Regions from separate parts of the Homo sapiens genome. Here region 1 is linked to region 2. Evidence: promoter capture Hi-C in human tissues and cell types (Jung and others, 2019). All regions are on one chromosome and are shown on one strand. Each heading gives the region's core, a stretch centred on a gene start or on the middle of the fragment in contact. The rest is flanking DNA. Distances are from core to core; before and after follow the strand shown. Region 1 has its middle 14 kb from the start of LINC02325. Region 2 holds the start of VRK1 (VRK serine/threonine kinase 1).

The links. Contacts are between HindIII fragments. The study calls those that stand out against the background at their distance.
Region 1: a fragment that was not itself captured here is called in contact with the fragment with the promoter of VRK1 in region 2 in 1 of the 25 tissues and cell types used here (lymphoblastoid cells).

The regions. Positions count from the first base shown.
Region 1 is chr14:97,443,065-97,446,010 of GRCh38, forward strand. No RefSeq gene overlaps it. Among named protein-coding and RNA genes, the nearest start is that of LINC02325, 14 kb to the right of the region's middle. The HindIII fragment of the contact is 5,085 bases long and covers 1-2,946 here.
Region 2 is chr14:96,795,468-96,798,774 of GRCh38, forward strand. It overlaps VRK1 (VRK serine/threonine kinase 1), which reads left to right and starts at 1,915. Exons shown (of 13, transcript NM_003384.3): 1 at 1,915-1,980. RefSeq lists silencers at 1,797-1,996, 2,007-2,296 and an enhancer at 2,241-2,772. The HindIII fragment of the contact is 7,034 bases long and covers 1-3,307 here.

The sequences.
Region 1 (2,946 bases), core at 92-2,591, 650 kb after region 2:
AAATTCGATCTCTAAATACAGCCACATTCTGAGGTACTGGGAGGACTTGTTCTATTTGAATTTTTTTTTTTTTTTTTTTTTTTTTTTTGTGGAGGGACACAATTTGCTCATAATAATGTGTCCCCTGGCCCTTCAAAACTCATGTCCTTTCTGCGTGCAAAATACACTGACTCCATTTCAACGTGTTCAAAAGTGTTAACTGATTCCAGCATCAACTCTAAGTCCAAAAGCTCACCTAAATAGCATCTAAATCAGATGTGGGTGAAACTCAAGGTATGATTTATTCAGAGGCAAAATTCCTCTTCAGCTGTAAACTTATAGAACCAGACAAGTTCTCTGCTTTCAAAATACAATGGTGGGGCAGGCATAGCATAGATATCCTATGGGAGAAATCAGAAAGAAGACAGGAGCCACAGGTCCCAAGCAAATTCCATTAGATCTTAAGGCTCAAGAATAACCCTCTTTGACTTCATAATCTATGGACCACCTGGTCCCTCCCTAGCAGCTTCTGTGGTGGTTTCTCGTCATCTCCCACCATTGTCCCAGCAAATAAATACTATGACCCAACAACTCACCATGTGCCAGAAACATTTCCTGTATGTCAGTCAACTCATTACATTCTCACCAGGGCCCTAAGAAAGAAGCCCAGTGATCAATTCCATTTGACCAAGGAAGAAAGTAAGACATAGAGAGGTCAAGTTCTTCGGCCAGGGCCACGTAGCTTATTAATGGAGTTGCTGGGACTTGAACCCAGCCAGTCTGACCCCAGGGCCTTTTCTTATACCGAGACCTTGGCATTCCAGGTGAGGCTCCTGCTCACCAGTGTTAGACAATCTCTGACCTGTTGTGTCAGCTCCAAGTGTTTACTGGTGTAAATGTTTCTTCTCCTCATCCCCAGAAGGAGTTAAATGAGACAGAAGTCCTCCTCGTAATCCTCTCGGTGCTCCTGTAGCTGGGACAATGTGTGATGCACAGAACACTTATAAGTGTCTGTTAGTGATGAGTGAATTGGGGGAGGCTGTGGTCCTTCCCTGAAAAGGTGAACCAATTAAAACTCAAAATCACCTTAGCAAGATACCAAAGAGCAGAATTTCAGTGGTCCCAGCCCCTCTGGAAGCCCCTGGAAGCTTATTTTCATTCTGAATAGACCTCCTTTGCTTTGCCTCACAGAGAGTGCTTCCATTCAACCAGTAATTAGTGTCTCTAAGTGGAATCTACTTAAGAAAGGACACAAAGCCTGAGAAAGTTGTATTATGCCATTTATAAATGTCCGGTGATCTGCTGCTGCACTGTGATTCACGGAGCTGAAATAAATGATTTGCTTCAAAAAAAAATTATGAACGTTCATTCCGCTGGTAGAATCTCTTAATTCCCGTTACACATGTCAGCATATTATGACTGGAAGCTGTCAGGTTCTAATGACTAAAATTTCATTTTTCAGACTTCTCACACTGTGTGTGAGGACTATAAGTTAGAAATATCTCTGCAGCTAAGTTTCTTCCTCATCTGGTAAATTTAGCTCTTTCTTTCTTTTCTATTTATTTTTTAAGTGTCCATGTTTACATGAATACCTTGAGTAAACTAATCTCATGCTTCATTCAATAAACGAGGAGGTCTACTACTATGGTGCTTTTCTTCCCAAAGCTGCTGTCCTTTTTATGGGACATAATGTGTCTTGACAGCTGACAGATTCAATGCAAAATTATTTTTACTTGGCAGAGTGGATCAAAATATGGATTATTTTAAAGAACATTAGCACTTTTTTGTTTAAAGTAAAATATATTGTTTATGCTTTGTATGGATAAACAACCTTGACATTGGCTGTAACTTGTTTTATTATCCTTGAAATGGAAATTTGTTGACACGATATTCAATAAATAGAAATACTTCGGTCCTGTTCACTTAACTCGCATACTATACTAAATAGGAATTATTGATCCTCCAGTTATTACACTTGTTCCTGAAATGCTCTGTGGAGGGCAGGAAAACCAACTTCCAATTCAGGTTGTTAATAGATTGGTCGCAAAATTTATGTTATCCATGTCCAACAAATCACTAATAAAAGCTTATAAGAGGCTAGATCATCTGCATTGAATTACTCATTCTTCCCCCCATAAAAAGCCTTTAGCTAGAGACTGACCAAAGAATTTAAAATCTCTCATTATCTATAAGTCATTGCTCAAAGTGTCCCTAAATGGGATTAAAGCATCGCTGCTCAGATTTCCTACAATGACTGCCCTCTTCTACTTCCACCTTGACTTAAATTAAAGGCTAATGATATGTTTCCAGAGGAAAGAAAGAGATAGCTTTTCCTTGAACGACTTTCCAGGACTCCAGCATCTAATCTGTTACGGAATAGCTGCTATGCCATGGTGGCCGACTGCATCTGTTTTTCTGGGAATATGGTCCAGGTCTAAGTGGGTCTGGTGACCACGTTGTCATCTCCATACAGCTGGTCAACTCAGTGCAGGAGGAAACGGGACGTAAGCACCGTGCACCATCCAGGGGCTGTTCTCTACCTTTGTTTACTGCCACTGCAAGGATGTGTGCTTCAGGTGCTGCTTTGAATACTCAGGGGCAGTCAATGCAAATGTTCCCTCCACTCAGTCTCCTTCCCTCCCACCCTCCTTTCTTTTTCTTTTTTTCTTTCTTTCTATCCATAAGCATTTATGGAGCACCAACCATGCACCAAACTCAGTACCAGGCACTGGGACCCCCAGACGGATCGGGCTTCCTGGTGCTCAAGCAGGTCTTGGTCTCCTGGGGGCTCAGACCAGCCCATGTACTCAGACATTTGTGTGGCATGACAGTGTGGGTGGTGGCAGGATGCCCAGTGGGAAAGGCCCAGGCCAGGCATGCTGCTGGCCTGCCTAGTGACTCCTGTCTTTACCCATAAGCACCTGGAGCCTGCTGAGGATTAACTGTGAATGAGTGACCATCACACTG
Region 2 (3,307 bases), core at 665-3,164:
GGAAGCAGATGACATAATTCCAAATAGGGTAATTTGAGGAAGGTTATTTGCAATGAGACTATTTACAACGGTGTTGGGGGTAGGAACCACGAGGGAGGATGCAGTAACTTGTGGGTCAGCAGCAGCCGTGATGTCATCACTTCCAGACCTGAGGCACAAAGGGAAGGGCTACTACCGCAAACTGGAGGGAGGGCCAGGGAGCAGTGACCTTCAGCTGAGGGACCTGCCAACTGGAGGTGACCTTGCCAGTCAGGATCCAGGGGCTTAACCTACTCTAACCAACCTTTCTTTTTCCTCCAATCTTCTGTGGGGTTCTCCACTGGGCACGCCCCAAAGCCAGGGGGCACAGGGAGCGCGAAGTAATTTGTAGAGGTCAGCCTCCTGGGGCAGAGGGCAGGCAGGAGAAGTATTTGGAGCAGATGAGGGTATCTGGAGGGGAAAATGTAAGACATCAGGCACAATATTGCCCTGTCTAATGGACAGAGTGATTCCAGGTTTTGTAGGGACTGAAGCTCACATAATTTTGGGGGATCTACTTTAAGAAAAATCAGCTGGGTGTGGTGGCTCATGCCTGTAATTCTAGCACTTTGGGAGGCTGAGGCGGGGTGGATTGTTTGAGCTCAGGAGTTCAAGACCAGCCTGGGCAACATGGTCAAACCCTGTCTCTACAAAAAATACAAAAATTAGCCAGAAGTGGTGGCCTGTGCGTGTAATCCCAGCTACTCGGAGGGTTGAGGTGGGAGGATTGCTTGAGCCCAGGAGGTCGTGGCTGCAGTGAACCGAGATCGCGCCAATGCATTGCAGCCTGGGTGACAAAGTGAGACTATATCTTTAAAAAAAAGAAAAAGAAAAGTAAAATCGACAAATAAACCCCCAAAGCTATGTAAACTCATTGAGGGACCTGCGCAAGTGAGGTCCTGAAGCTTACGCTTCATTGGCTTCATTGTTAATCTCCCTCTGCCTGTGACTTCAGTGATTTTGACCTAGAACAATGACCCAGTGCCCAATAAGCTCTCAGCCTCATGGGTGATGGAGACTTAGCTGATTATAATAAACACAATGCGGCCGGGCGCGGTGGCTCACGCCTGTAATCCCAGCACTTGGCGAGGCCAAGGCGGGCGGATCACAAGGTCAGGAGATCGAGACCATCCTGGCTAACACGGTGAAACCCCGTCTCTACTAAAAACAGAAAAAAATTAGCTGGGCGTGATGGCGAGCGCCTGTAGTCCCAGCTACTCGGGAGGCTGAGGCAGGAGAATGGCGTGAACCCGGGAGACGGAGCTTGCAGTGAGCCGAGACTGTGCCACTGTACTCCAGCCTGGGCGACAGAGTGAGACTCCGTCTCAAAAAAATAAATAAATAAAAATAAATAATAAACACAATGCAAACTGTGGCATACGTTGATTACAGATGAAACACTATAGATGATTAGGTAGACATTGAGATATGCTTTGAAATAGGCTTCGAAAAACAGGTAGGATTTAGACACATATCAATGAGTGGGCAGAATAATACTAACACTATCTGCTATTTATTGAGCACCAACTAAGTTTAAAGTACTGCCTATAGATTATTTCATTTAATCCTAACAGAAACAGGAAACTTATTTTACACCCAACTCTCTGCCAATACACTTAATAAATCAAGCTACTACGAACAAGGCTGTAAACCACATTTCCTAGAAGACCAGGGAGCAGAAGGACGGGGATCTCCCTTTGCCGCTAAGAGACTCCAACTCCCAGGATGCCTTGGGAGCGCTGGACCACAGCTCCCGGCATTCCCGGGGAGGCGCGGGGCTAGCGTAGCCTCCGCCCCGCGCCTCGCGTTACCACTCGTCCCGCCCCTCCTCGTCGCCTCCGAGCCAATGGGAAGGCTCCATACTGCAGGGTGCGAAGGGGCCGGCGCCGCTGCCGAGTTACGAGTCGGCGAAAGCGGCGGGAAGTTCGTACTGGGCAGAACGCGACGGGTCTGCGGCTTAGGGTAGGGAGGCCGCAGGCGACACGGCTCGAGGACTCGCGCGCCGAGCCGGGGGCGCGGAGGCGGGCGGCCGGGGCTGGGGCCGGCACTGGGCCTTCCGGGCGGCCTGTGGGTCCACCGGGGTGCGGGAGTCGCCGTCAGCCTCGGTCGCCCCGCGGGACCGCGCTCCGCCGCGTGGCTTCCGCCTGCGCGGGCGTCCGCTCCTTCCTTGTCTCGTTCAGGCCCCGCAGGCGCCCCCGGGGATGCCTGGACTGGCCAGGCCGGCCCCCATCTGAGCTCCACGTTCTGGACGCGCGTGGTGTCGCGGCCGAGCTCGCAAACGCCGCCTCGGGCCTCACCGGGAAGCCGGTTCTGTCAGGCGGGGCTCCGGGTGAACAGCGCAGGCGAGGCCCCTGCCCCGCAGAGCTCACTCTGTAGAAGGGAAACAACACACGCAGCTGCGATGTTTTGCGGATACGGAAATGCTTTCTTAGAAACGGGACAGGCAGTTGCGGGCTAGAGGAATGGGGGCGAGGCTCTTTAGGTTAGGTGATCCGGGAGGGCATCTCAGAGGATGTGACCTTTGACTTGAGACCTGAGAGGGGAGGCCGACCCCTGAGGATAGCAGCCAGGCCTGGGGACCGCGAGGCCGCCCGTTATTTCCCTGTCACATCGCGGGGAGGCCCCGTGATCCTGTACTTGAGGGTCTGTCTGGTGCAAGGCAGTTAGAGCCGCTTGTGTGTTTTGCAAGGGACTTTCATAACCGTTTGACAGTTCCTCCTCATTCTGTCCTTACCTGGCAGGGTGGCATCCTTTACTGTTGCAGCTCCATTCAGGGGCAACGCATAGTTTTTCCTACCACCGAAATAGTATTGTGGTTCTCGTCTCAAAACTCTTAGGTGGTAGAATTAAATTCGACAGACAGCAGCAGAGTCAGACACTATAGGTTCCTGTTGAGGCCACCCATTTTTCTGATGTCCTTTCTTTCAAGTCACTCATTTTTGTTTTCCTTTGTATAGACTCTTCCCTTCCCTTTCCTGTGTCCCTTTCTTGGAACAACTTGGAAATACAATTTGCTATTGGGAGGATGTTGGTTTTAGGGAACTGTTGAAGAACTTCATTAATTATTGTGTGTGTGTTTTTCTTTTCTTCTTCTTTTTTTTTAAACTGGAATTGCCCATCTGTTGAGACTGAAATTCAAGAGTAAAAAAAAGTAGGGCAGCATTTATTTTCAAGAGTTGACAATAAAGGCACCTTTCTTTATGACATGCTGAGCATGATACTTTGGGGGAGAATTTAATCTAGAATTTTGAAGCATTTTCAGAAGGAAGCAAGGGTTCTTTATATAGTC